3 separate regions of the Homo sapiens genome follow, and all the other regions are linked to region 3. Evidence: promoter capture Hi-C in human tissues and cell types (Jung and others, 2019). All regions are on one chromosome and are shown on one strand. The core of a region is centred on a gene start or on the middle of the fragment in contact, and the rest is flanking DNA. Distances in the headings are between cores, read along the strand shown. Region 1 has its middle 130 kb from the start of SLC22A3. Region 2 has its middle 150 kb from the start of LPA. Region 3 holds the start of SLC22A1 (solute carrier family 22 member 1).

Region 1 (4,627 bases), core at 1,039-3,538, 360 kb after region 3:
TGCATATGCAGTTTATATTAGACTTCCATGCATATTCCTTCAGCTCCTTTTCACCACAAATTCTTTCTCATTATTACCTAGCATAGAAAATACACATTTTCTTAGCTATCCCAAACTCCAGTCTCTTTCCTCAGTTCAGCAAGACTGCTGTGGTTGGCTTTGGCTCCAATTCCTTGCCCTTCAGTCCAGGAAGGTTCTCCAGGAAGAAAGTCATAATAGTTATGGAGTTGCGCTCATTCATTTCCTTTTCTAAATTATCTCAGTCCTGTACTGTCTCTTGTCCAACATGTGGAAAGTTTTTTTGTATATCTTTTGTAGTCTTTTATGGCAGAAAGCCAGTTTTTGTCAGACCAGGTTTTTTGTCCATGTACCGGCCCGTTTTAATCTGTACATCTGTTTACTTCCTGACTGACTCTCATCTACGTTCTTGCTTTTGCTCTTCCTGTCCTGGCAACCCATATCCCTTCAGAAAACTGGAGCTTAGAACCCAGTGTGTTCACACAGGTGTATATATATAACTATATATAACTATATATATATATACACACACACACATAGTTATATTATGTGTGTGTGTGTGTGTGTGTGTGTCCTGCAGATTGTATAGCTATATAGCCTGCAGCTGTGCAGACTATAGGGTGATTGGTCATCAGTCAGGGACAGACATGAAAACCTTGCACATTTCCCTAGACCATATATGAATACTTGCCTGTATGAACACATATATGAATACCAACCTATATGAGCACATATATATGAATACTAGTCTGTATGAACACACCTGGTTCTATATATATGCACACACATGTGAATTATTTACTTGTGACCCATGACAAAAATGGCAAACCCAACCTTCACTTCAGGGAAGGGAGGTTAGAATGATAGAATTGCATGGGTGAAAGACTGCATTGATCTTTTATGAGCCTTGTAGAATGGCACTCTATTTGATCGTTTGTTCTCCTGAGCTTTATATTAAAAAGACCTCATCAGCTCCATGTAGCCTTCTGCTTCCATCAGACTATTAGAAAAGATAGCAAGCCTAAAATACCTATTCTCTCAGACTCTTTGATCAAAAGCAAAGTTGTTTGGACATTTTGACACACCTTCTGGGTCTAAGGGAAATTTGTCCTAACAAGTTAGCTTGAAGCAAGGCTCTTCTAGGAGGAACTTAAGTTGGCTGTTGCTCCTCTTACAAGTAACATCAAAGACATACTCATTTGGGTAGTTTTCTGGGGTCCTCTGATGCCGGTGTGGTGTCATGGATGACCAAGATTGACATGTCCTTCCTGTGACAGTGGTGGAGAATGTGCCTTGATAACTCTGTCCATTACCATGGTAGCACTGCCGGACCACAGGGGTTTGCTCAGTTGGTGCTGAAAATAGTCAAAATCAAGCTCAGTAATTACTAGTACGCAGAAACATGTGAAGCAATTTATGACACAAACAGGACAGTAGTTTCAGAATTATGACTGTTCTCTTCAGAATACTCGCAAGCAGAAGGACATGCTGAAGCAAAAACAATAGATTAATAGCATTCTAATATTTTAATAAGTTCTTAGAAATGTTATATTCAAAATCTGGTGGGGAAAGGACCTATCAGTGTTCTTACAATTGCAACTAAGACTCATGTGCAAGCTCTTTTGTGTGGCTCTCTACTGATTGTTCATGAGAACAACAAGGCAGGAAACCAGACAGTGATGGATTAGGCCATGCAGGCTGTTGGGTGATTGGCTGTCAGTGGGGGACAGACAGGAAAACCTTGCACATTTCCCTAGACCATTGCTCCTGAAAAGCCAAAGCCTTAAGCTTCTGGTGGACGGGGCAGTTCATGGTCCTGCATCTAGTACTTGCAGGCAAAGACACATTGCTTCTTAGAGAAGGATGGAGACTAAAATCTTATTCCCTTACAGGAGAGACAGGGAATCCTCTTGTTCCAGCACCCTGCATTGCAACAAAGCAGAAGTCTACTACCTTTCCTCTCAACACACACCAAAGATGCACGTTCCACGAGAAGAAGGCGCAAGAACACCAAGAAATTCCTGCCTTCCAAGCATAGGTGTGCAGAGCCTACCTAAGACTAAGATAAGCCAGAGAAATAATGCATTCTGTGGTTATGTAGTGTCAAATAGCCCCAGGATTAGATGGAATAAATGTCATCATATTAGGTTTCTCCAGGATGACAAACTCAGCGGCCACATACCTCAGCAACCACAATGCAATGATTGCAATGAACACTGCCCATTTTACGAAAGGCCTGGAAACACTCACTGGTGTGAAAATTGGCACAAATTTGGCCGGACGTTAGAACTGGAATTTTGTCTAGGACACCAAGATAACTCACTTAACAAGATGAGTGGTAAGTCAAGCGCCCTGGAGGGTTGCACCCTTCCTAAAGACACCATTGACTAGCATTGCACCAAAAATTACACCTCTTGCTAGAGCAGAGAGGGTGCTGAGGCTTCCTTATGCACGGCATAACCTCAACCAACCATCAAGTTTCTCAGTAGCATGGAAGGCTTCTGCATCTGTCAGATTTTAAATCTTTTCATCCCAATGTTCAAATGTGTAGATGTCTGGCCACAGACTTCTTACCTGCTTCAGAATGAGCCTCCATGCTTGGAACTGGAACAACAGTGGGAGTCTCTAGGACACTGATTCTGTTTCTGAGCATTGTGTCAGGTTGCAGTACTCCCACCTCACACACGGATCAGTTGTGTAACACCAGGGTTGTTTCCCAGAATCTGGATTCCTGCAGTAGTTCCTGGTCAGGCCACTGCAAATTCCAGAACAATACAGGTTACAAGAGATGGTAAAAAATTCAGGGGCACCCAGCACTGTCTAAATTTTGTTACAATAAAGTGTTAAAAAGTGACATTTGAATATTCCCATTTTAGGTAAAATGATATTCCCAAGGCAAAAATGGTCCTCAAGTTCTAAAGAAGAGTGTAAATTTCCAAGATAGATTATAATGTATATTTTAAAAAATCAAAAATAGTCTATGCTCCATTTAAAAACTGAGATCATGCATAAACGTACACAAGAAAAAAATTAGAGCTGGGTGCGATGGCTCACACCTGTAATCCCAGCACTTTGGGAGGCTGAGGCAGGCAGATCACCTGAGGTCGGGAGTTCGAGACCAACCTGACCAATACGGAGAAGCCCTGTCTCTAGTAAAAATACAAAATAAGCTGGGAGTGGTGGTGGGTGCCTGTATTTCCAGCTACTTGGGAGGCTGAGGCAGGAGAATCCCTTGAGCCCAGGAGGCAGAGATTGCAGTGAGCCGAGATCGCACCATTGCACTCCAGCCTGGGCAACACAAGCAAAACTCCATCTCAAAAAAAAAAAAAAAAGGGAAAAAGATCAGAATATGTTTCTCCTTCTGCCAACTGCATTCCTCCAGAAAACTGATGTGGATTTTTTAAGTGTGCATCTTAGATTTTATTAATGCACATAAAAATATATAATATATTGATATCTGTCTACTTCTTTATATCCTTCTTTAGGACTCTACAGTAACATGTAAATTGGAATCAAAATATATTTCTTCAGGGAAGAAATGGCATCCAACATGACACCATTCCCAGGCCAGCCCCCTTACTCTATGTATTCGCAGAGGAGTCAGAAAACAATGGAGTAAGAGGCAAAGGTGGTGAGTAACCCGCGATGGGTGTATCTTGGAGCATTTGCTCCCCCTTATGAATCCCAGGAACATTGCTCCAACCTCTCAGTATTCTCGCATTCATGACCTGTGGCTGTCTGTGAAAACGGGAAATGTATTATGTGCCATGGGGATCCAACACTCTCTCTCAAGAGACTACACATGTGACCTAGTCTCAAGCACAGACCCTCCATTCAAGAAGCTTGTTCTCTGAGCATTTGGATGTGCTCAGAGCCGAGCAGTTGACTTATTTTTCTTCCTTGGCTGCCTTCTTTTTGACATATGGAATATTCTTGTCATAGAATATACCTCAGTGTTCACAATTTTGTGATTACTCTAGAATTTGCAATATCTCTTTGAACCCAAATATTTCAAACTTTTATTATGTACCATCATAGGTAAGGCAAGAAACTTACAATGGTATAATTCTTTATTCCCTACACGATTTATGCTACATTTTCAAATTTTTACTTCAAATATGCTAAAATAATACATATTGCTGTCATTTTGCTTCAAGCAGTCAAATATAATTTAAGGCAATTACGAAATTTGATCAAGAAAATATTTTTGCATTTACATCTACATTTGCCATTTGCTGGGTTCTTCAATACGTGGGATGCAGAAAGTTCCCACCTTGTACTATTCTTCTTGTACGTAATTCCCTTTGGGCCACATCTTTTGTGACATAAGCCTGCTGATTCCAAATTCTCATAGCTTTCGGATTTCTTGTTTGGGGGGTGCACAAAATGCAATTATACAACATTGATGATTTTCAAGGCAGTGTATAGCTGGATGTAGCATTCTCGGTTGATCTCTTCTTTTCCCTGTTTATCATTTTAATGATATTCCTTTGCCTGCAGTTTGCCATGTTTCTGATGAGAACACATTAGCCATTTGTATCACCGTTCCTCTAGCAAGACACAGCTCTTTTTCCTACAGTTTCTCACAAGATATTTCTTGATACTATAT
Region 2 (4,660 bases), core at 2,056-4,555, 390 kb after region 3:
CTTTTGAAGTTTTAATTTATAATTGACACATAGTAATTGTACGTATTTATGGGGTACAGTGTGATGTTTCAATGCATGGATACACTGTATAAGGATCAAATCAGGGTGATTAGCATACTCCTCACTTCAAACATTTTTTCTTTGTGGTGAGAAGATTCAAAATTCTCTCTTCTAGTTATCTTGAAATACACAACACATAATCATGAACTATAGTCACCCTAGTGTATAATAGAACACCAGAACTTATTCTTTCTATCTAACTAGAAATTTGTACACATTGACCAACCCCTTTTCATTCTCCTCTCCCTGACTACCCTGCTCACCCTCTGGTAACCACTATTCTACTGTCTAATTCTGTGAAATCAAGATTTTACTAAGTTTTATTGATAAATAATAATTGCATATGTTCATGGAGTACACAGATATATTTCAATACAAATGATGTACAGAGATCAAAGAGGGGTAGTTAGCATATCAATCAATCACCTCAAACATTTATCACTCATTTGTTTTGGAAACACTCAATATCCTCTTTCTAGTTGCTTGAAACTATACAATATAATATTGTTAGCTAGACTCATCCTACAGCGGCATAAAACACTAGAACATATTTCTGATACCTAGGTGTAATTTTGTAGCCTTTAACAAATCTCTCCCTATTCCCCCTTTCCCCACTCTTCCAGACCTGGAACATCCTCCATATTACTTTTTACTTCTTTGATATAAGCTTTTTTAGCTGCCACATATTGTTACTGGCAGCAAATCCATATGGGTCTGCAGCAACCTCAATTGTTGCTTCCTTGGACGAAAGATTTTAAGAGGCAGGAGGCAAAAGGACAGCAGGAGTGACAGTTTATTTAAAAGCTTTAGAGCAGGAATGACAGGAAGAAAAGCACACTCGGAAGAGGGCCAGGCAGGTGACGAAAGGCAAGTGGGGTGGCTGGCAAAATGGCCGAATAGGAACAGCTCCATTCTGCAGCTCCCAGCGAGATCAACACAGAAGGCAGATGATTTCTTCATTTCCAACTGAGGTACCCGGCTTATCTCACTGTGACTAGTTAGACAGTGGGTGCACCTCATGGAGGGTTAGCAGAAGCAGGCTGGGACATCGCCTCACCTGGGAAGTGCAAGGGGTCAGAGAACTCCCTCCCCTAGCCAAGGGAATCCATGAGGGTCTGTGCCGTGAGGAATGGTGCACTCTGGCACAGATACTATGCATTTCCCATGGTCTTCACAACCCACAGACCAGGAGATTCCCTTGGGTGCCTATGCCACCAGGGCCCTGGGTTTCAAGCACAAAACTGGATAGCCATTTGGGTAGACACTGAGCTAGCTGCAGGAGCTTTTTTTCCATACCCCAGTGGTGCCTGGGATGCCAGTGAGACAGAACTGTTCACTCCCCTGGAAAGGGGACTGAAGCCAGGGAGCCGAGGGGTCCAGCTCAGTGGATCCCACCCCCATGGAGCCAAGCACCCTAAGATCTACTGGCTTGGAATTCTTGCTGCCAGCACAGCAGTCTGAGGTTGAACTGGGATGCTCCAGCTTGGTTGGGGGAGGGGTGTCCACTATTACTAAGCCTTGAGTAGGCGGTTTTCCCTTCACAGTGTAAACAATGCCCCTGGGAAGTTCCAAATGCCCCAATTAAAAGACACAGACTGTCAAAGTGGATAAAGAGTCAAGACCCATTGTGTGTTGTATTCAGGAGACCCATCTCATGTGCAAAGACGCATGTAGGCTCAAAATAAAGGGATGGAGGAATATTTACCAAGCAAATAGAAAGCAAAAAAGAAAAAAAAAAGGGGGGTGGGTGGGTTGCAATCCTAGTCTCTGATAAAACAAACTTTAAATGAACAAAGATCAAAAGAGACAAAGAAAGGCATTACATGATGGTAAAGGGATCAATGCAACAAGAAGAGCTGACTATCCTAAATATATATGCAATACAGTAGCTCCCAGGTTCATAAAGCAAGTTCATGGAGACCTACAAAGAGACTTAGACTCCCACACAAAAAATAGTGGGAGACTTTAATACCCCACTGTCAATATTAGACAGATCAATGAGACAGAAAATTAACAAGGATATTCAGGACTTGAACTCAGCTCTGGACCAAGCCAACCTAATAGACATCTACAGAACTCTCCACCCCAAATCAACAGAATATATATTCTTCTCAGCACCACATTGCACTTATTCTGAAATAGACCAGATAATTGGAAGTAAAACACTCCTCAGCAAATGCAAAAGAATGGAAATCATAACAGTCTCTCAGACCACAGTGCAATCAAATTAGAACTCAGGATTAAGAAATTCACTCAAAACAGCACAACTACATAGAAACTGAACAACCTGCTCCTGAAAGACTACTGCGTAAATATTGCAATTAAGGGAGAAATAAATAAGTTCTTTGAAACCAATGAGAACAAAGACACAACATACCAGAATCTCTGGGACACAGCTAAAGCAGTGTTTAGGGGGAAATTTATAGCACTAAATGCCCACAAGATAAAGAAAGAGGATCTAAAGTCGACACCCTAACATCACAATTAAAAGAACTAGAGAAGCAAGAGCAAACAAATACAAAAGCTAGCAGAAGATAAGAAATAACTAAGATCAGAGCAGAACTGAAGAAGATAGAGACAGGAAAAACCCTTCAAAAAATCAATGAATCCAGGAGTTGTTTTTTTGAAAAGATCAACAAAATAGATAGACCAGTAGCCAAACTAATGAAGAAAAGAGAAAAGAATCCGATAGACACAATAAAGAATGATAAAGGAGATATCACCACTGATCCCACAGAAATACAAACTACCATCAAGGAATACTATCAACACCTCTATGCAAATAATCTAGAAAATCTAGAAGAAATAGATAAATTCCTAGACAGATACACCCTCCCAAGTCTAAACCATGAAGAAGCTGAATTCCCTGAACTTGAATAACAAGTTCTGAAATTGAGGCAGCAATTAATAGTAACCAAAAAAAGTCCAGGACCAGATGGATTCAGAGACGAATTATATCAGAGGTACAAAGAGAAGCTGGTACCATTCCTCCTGAAATTCTTCCAAACAATAGAAAAAGAGGGACTCCTCCCTAACTCATTTTATGAGGCCAGCATCATTCTGATACCAAAACCTGGCAGAGACGCAACATAAAGAAAATTTCAGGCCAATATCCCTGATGAACATCTATGCAAAAATCCTCAATAAAATACTGGCAAACCTAATCCAGTAGCACATCAAAAAGCTTATCTACCATGATCAAGTCGGCTTCATCTCTGGGATGCAAGGCTGGTTCAACATACACAAATCAATAAGGGTAATTCATCACATAAACAGAACCAATGACAAAAACCACATGATTATCTCAATAGATATAGAAAAGGCCTTCAATAAAATTAAATAGCCCTTCATGCTAAAAACTCTCAATAATCTTGGTATTGATGGAACATACCTCAAAATAATAAGAGCTATTTATGACAAACCCATAGCCAATATCATACTGAATGTGCAAAAGCTGGAAGCATTCCCTTTGAAAACCAGCACAAGACAAGGATGCCTTCTCTCACCACTCCTATTCAACATAGTATTAGAAATTCTGGCCAGGGCAATCAGGCAAGAGAAAGAAATAAAGGGTATCAGATGGAAAAAGATGAAGTCAAATTGTCTCTGTTTGCAGATGACATGATTGTATATTTAGAAAACCCCATCATCTCAGCCCAAAATCTCCTTAAGCTGATAAGAAACTTCAGCAAAGTCTCAGGATACAAAATCAATGTGCAAAAATCACAAGCATTCCTATACACCAATAATAGACAAAGAGCCAAATCATGAGTGAATTCCCATTCACAATTGCTACAAAGAGAATAAAATACCTAGGAATACAACTTAAAGGGATGTTAAAGACCTCTTCAAGGAGAACTACAAACCACTGCTCAAGGAAATAAGAGAGGACACAAACAAATGGAAAAAAATTCCATGCTCATAGACAGGAAGAATCATGAAAATGGCCATATTCCCCAAAGTAATTTATAGAGTCAATGTTATCCCCATCAAGCTACCATTGACTTTCTTCACATAATTAGAAAAAACTACTTTAAATTTCATATGGAACCAAAAAGATCCCATATAGCCAAGACAAGCCTAAGCAAAAAAAAAAAACAAAAACAAAAACAAAAAAAAAACAAAGCTGGAGGCATCACGCTTCCCAACTTCAAACTATACCACAAGGCTACAGTAACCAAAACAGCATGGTACTGGTACCAAAACAGATATATACACCAATGAAACAGAACAGAGCCCTCAGAAATAACACCAAACATCTACAACCATCTGATCTTTGACAAACGTGACAAAAACAAGCAATGGAGAAAGGATTCCCTATTTAATAAATGGTGTTGGGAAAACTAGTTAGCCATATGCAGAAAACGGAAACTGGACCCCTTCCTTACACCTTATACAAAAATTAACTCAAGATGGATTAACGACTTAAACATAAAACATAAAAACATAAAAACCCTAGAAGAAAACCTAGACAATATGATTCAGGACATAGGCATGGGAGAAGACTTTATGACTAAAACACCAAAAGCAATAGCAACAAAAGCCAAAATTGACAAATGGGATCTAATTAAGCTAAAGAGCTTCTGCACAGCAAAAGAAA
Region 3 (4,710 bases), core at 750-3,249:
CAAACACCTTATTTTGGTAATCCTATGTAACTAAACTTGTCAAATAACCCTGTTTACCTCTCCCTTTCGATGCTCCAGGTGTCTTCTGTAGCATCCAAAACTCAGGGGTTAGGAAAGAAAATTTTGAAGCTGTAAAGGCTCAAAACACTTAACAGAATTTTTGGTTACTATAAGTCATTCATTTAAATGACTCAAAGCAAAAACCTTCAGTCACTAAGAGGGAAGACCTAATTTTCCAAACAATCTAACTTTTAACCATCGCACTCCTTTTTAAGAAGTCCTTTTAAGTCTCTTATTATCCAACTTTAGCCATGCCAAATGGCCAGTTGAATTCATGGAGGGGCAGAGAATATAGTGATTTTTTTATTGTTCCTGCAACCAGTTTGCACAGAGAGAGAAACCAAAAGTCTGACTGGTAAGAACTTTTACCCTTTCGCCAGCATGTCAGGCTGCTGAGCTCCCTTCCCCTCAGCTATGGAGCCCTATTGACCCTGGAGTCCTGTTGATCTCTTGTCCTTCCCTTCTTGTGTCAGTAGCTTATTCACAAAGAAAACAAAATCTTTCATTGCATGAAAATCTTGTTCAAGTGAAAGCCAAATTTTACCCTTACATTAGTCTATTAATGTCAACCCCAATTAAAAAAAATAAAACCTTACAGAGAAATCCATCCAATCTTAATCAGTTTGATCATGAACTGAGATTGTTATAAATCTTTTATAACCTTTTACAAATTTTTTTTGTTAAACAGCATGTAAGTGCTTCAAGAAAACCTTGTTGTGCTTGTATTCCATTGTTCAACTTATGGAAAACCAAATAATATCCTTTTTAGTGTAGTCAATATGTTTACACACAGGATTCCTTTTACAAGATTAATTTTTTACAAACCTTCCATAACTTGTTTGAACCTTAAGCTTTATCTTATATAATTTAAAACAATCATTTAACCCTCTGAACTAGGCAAAAATTTACATTCCCATGCCTTCTTATATTATTTTACTAATGATACATTTTACTCTCCTTACTCACCTCACGTGTAGATCTGTTTTCAGTAGTCATCACTACATGTTATAATGGTAGCTCTTAGTAATTGTTAATTTTGGTGAAATACCCAGTAAGTTATTTTAGTTACGTACTTAGGTGCAGATGAGGTCTAACTATTTCCAGCATAGCTAGGGCAGGCCCTACCAAACTGCAAAGCAGGAAAGTTGAACAATTTTCAAAAGCCAAAGCAGTTTATGACCTTAAAGCATTTAGTCAACCTAGTTTCTGACTTGCATAATTTAGACCATGTCTATATTTTGAAGACATTTCTATTTTCATTTTACTGATAATTTAAAAGACAGCCTATTTAGCAAAGTCATACTTAAGTGAATTTGAAAATTGCTTAGACTTATTTACTTAATTTATGAACACTCTTTTACTTATAAGCCAATTTGGTAGACACAACATATAACAGTAAGTGTACATACAAGTAAACACATCTAGACATGTATACACACACACAAATGAAGAGGTGGAGCTTAAAACACCCAAATTGGGTGCAGTGTATACTGCTTGGGAGATGGATGCACCAAAATCTCACAAATCACCACTAAAGAACCTGCTCATGTAACCAAATAATACCTGTTCCCTCAAAACCTATGGGAAAAAAAAACTAAAAAAAATACTTAAATGGTATCACAGAACTAATTAGCCGAATACAGTATCTAGTACCTGGCTGTCACCCAATACTTGCCTCATACCATCACATCTAGAAAACAAGTAGATATTCTTTTTGGAAGAGCCCTGAGGGAGCTACTAGGAGGTTTGCACGGCCTGCTCTCCTGCCCTCTTCTTGCTCTGTGGCTGAACTTCAATTCTCTTCGGGCTTAGACCCCACTGACTCGCTCCCGGGCAAAGCAAACGATTTGATCAGATGGCCACGTGCATTCTTCCTTTTCCTGAAACCAGCACCATAGGGTAAAAGATTATTTCTACTTGGTTGCCTTCCAGATGTTTCACACTTGGACAGCAAACTGATTTCAAACCACTCCTTTTCAAAGATCTCTGAGGGAGACATTGCACCTGGCCACTGCAGCCCAGAGCAGGTCTGGCCACGGCCATGAGCATGCTGAGCCATCATGCCCACCGTGGATGACATTCTGGAGCAGGTTGGGGAGTCTGGCTGGTTCCAGAAGCAAGCCTTCCTCATCTTATGCCTGCTGTCGGCTGCCTTTGCGCCCATCTGTGTGGGCATCGTCTTCCTGGGTTTCACACCTGACCACCACTGCCAGAGTCCTGGGGTGGCTGAGCTGAGCCAGCGCTGTGGCTGGAGCCCTGCGGAGGAGCTGAACTATACAGTGCCAGGCCTGGGGCCCGCGGGCGAGGCCTTCCTTGGCCAGTGCAGGCGCTATGAAGTGGACTGGAACCAGAGCGCCCTCAGCTGTGTAGACCCCCTGGCTAGCCTGGCCACCAACAGGAGCCACCTGCCGCTGGGTCCCTGCCAGGATGGCTGGGTGTATGACACGCCCGGCTCTTCCATCGTCACTGAGGTAAAAAAGCCTCTGTAACATGGGAGTTCCTGGGACAGGGAGAAATATAAAGCAAATCCTATGAAGTTCAGTTCCATATCAGGAAAGAGGTAGGGGGCTATGTTTATTGTGCAGTTCGTGGGTGTCTGGCTGTGTCCCAGGCACGGGGCATTCTCTTCTCTAGTTTAATCCACCACAAACTCTGGGTCTTTGAGGAGGAAGCTGAGGCAGGAGAGAACAGCTAGCACAAGTCGGGGGCCAGGTTGCCAGGTTGCTTGAATGGGAGTTGACTGGGAGACCAGGAGCCTCTCTGCCTGCCCCACTGGCTTCTCCCAGAACTATCAACTTGCTCTGGGTCCCGCTTCCCCACCAATAGTACTGTGGGCCCCCTCCTTCTGCTCAAGAGTGATGACGATTGACCTCAATGATGGTGTTGAGGTGGCCTGGAATTGCCCTGGCTTGGAAGTGAGAATATTTGGTGGAATCCCAGCTGTGCCCCTTATTAGCTGAGCATCACTGGGTAAGTCACTGCCTCTCTAAGCCTCATTTCCTCATCAGTCAACCAGGGATGATGACGGCTGCCTCATAGGGGTGTGAGCTTCAGCTGGGATCTGTGAAAGCACTGAGCAAATCCAAACTGAGTCACACCGTGCAGTCCGATGGGGCCCATGGGATAGGGCGATGGCCTCAAAAGGGCCTTGCTTGAGTAGTTTACTTGGTTATTTGAGCATTTTGCTTTGAGAATCCTTTAGTAAAAAGTGTCACCACATTTTTTTCCCATCATGAGCCCTTTTGAAACTATTGCACGGTAACAAGTGTGGATGCTTGGTGGGTTGGAGAAGCTGTGGGCCAAAGCCCGTCAGGGGCCTTCTGTTAGTAACGAGCAGTGGCGTGGTTTTGGTGCAGGCACTGCTTCCCTGAAATAAGAGGTAACTGGGCCCTCCCTGCCTCTGGTCCTGCCCACTTGTCTGCCCCCACTACCCTCGCCCAAGCTCTCCGGACTTCTTGGGTCTCTGTTCTTCCTCTTTTCCCTTTCCTGAGTGGTATCAGCGGTGACACATTTAGGGCTATTACTGGAGGAAAGCTTAGGGTCCCTCCCCTCTGGGCCTGAGCATTGCTCTACCTGCTTGCCTGGAGCAGAGCAGGTGCCGGTGCAACTGGCTTTACGATGCTGAAGAGACATCTTGTCTCCAAGGCATCCTCCAACAATGGATGACAAGTTAGGCAGCCCACCTTCCAGGGATCTCCAACCATCTGACATTCCCACTGGGAATCTAGAAGCAGACCAGGATGAGGATGTGTTTGCTCTCTGGGACTGAGACATACTCTGCTTTGAGGAGATCAGATGTGATCATTCCTCCAGTCAGACATCCACCCAGTATGTTCGGCATACTCCCTCTATTCTGGCACTGGGTGTGATGCCGCAGGGGAGATGCAGAAGAAGATTGTGAGGTCCCTCAAGGAGTCTGCAGTCTTGTGGGGACTGAGAGGGGAAGAGGATGGCAAGAATGAGACCAGTGTTCGTTTAATGACAGCCCAAGGCCGCCTGTGGTGAATGCCATGAGCAGGGCGGAAAGGGACTGGTGGGCTCTAAGAAGGTAGAGATCTCAGCTGCTGAGCTCTGAGCTGATCATAGACGTCTTCTGGGAGGAGGTGGCTTTGAGCTGAGCCTCAGCTGGTATTTGGACCAGCAAGGAGAGGGGACAGGTGGAGTAGAGGGGAGGGGAAGTAGATCCCCAGACCAAGGGGAGAGCTTGAGCCTAGGCTCAGGGCCCAGGGAGTGTTTGCTGCATTCAGGGTGCAAGGAGCACTGATATGAGGGTCATGATATGAGGAGTTGTGGGGAGAACACTGGTGTCTAACCTTGGGGCCAGAACACGGAGTGCTTAGTGTGGGGTTGCCAGGTACAATACAGGATGCCCAGTTAAACTCGAACATTTGAACTTCAGATAATCCAACTGGATAGGATACTTACTTCCCAGATACTGCATGATATTTGGTACTGATAACTGAGACTGGAAATGCAAATATTGCATGAACATACTTATCCTAAAAAAAAAAAAGTTGTTTATCTGAAATTCAAATTTACCTGGGCATTCTGTATTTTTATTTGTGAACCCTGGCAACGCTACCTTAGTGCCCAACAAAGGAGTTTGGGTCTTATTTAGGCAGGCAAGCAAGGTGACCCTAGCTGGACTCG

Evidence for each region. Contacts are between HindIII fragments. The study calls those that stand out against the background at their distance.
Region 1: a contact is called between a fragment that was not itself captured here and the fragment with the promoter of SLC22A1 in region 3, in 1 of the 25 tissues and cell types used here (H1 embryonic stem cells).
Region 2: a fragment that was not itself captured here is called in contact with the fragment with the promoter of SLC22A1 in region 3 in 1 of the 25 tissues and cell types used here (aorta).

What each region holds. Positions count from the first base shown.
Region 1 is chr6:160,475,916-160,480,542 of GRCh38, forward strand. It overlaps the pseudogene LPAL2. Among named protein-coding and RNA genes, the nearest start is that of SLC22A3, 130 kb to the left of the region's middle. The HindIII fragment of the contact is 4,217 bases long and covers 181-4,397 here.
Region 2 is chr6:160,512,451-160,517,110 of GRCh38, forward strand. No RefSeq gene overlaps it. Among named protein-coding and RNA genes, the nearest start is that of LPA, 150 kb to the right of the region's middle. The HindIII fragment of the contact is 5,020 bases long and covers 796-4,660 here.
Region 3 is chr6:160,119,816-160,124,525 of GRCh38, forward strand. It overlaps SLC22A1 (solute carrier family 22 member 1), which reads left to right and starts at 2,000. Exons shown (of 11, transcript NM_003057.3): 1 at 2,000-2,531. The coding sequence starts at 2,121. LOC124901452 (a long non-coding RNA gene) reads right to left here and starts at 1,880. Exons shown (of 2, transcript XR_007059842.1): 1 at 1,027-1,880. The HindIII fragment of the contact is 5,449 bases long and covers 258-4,710 here.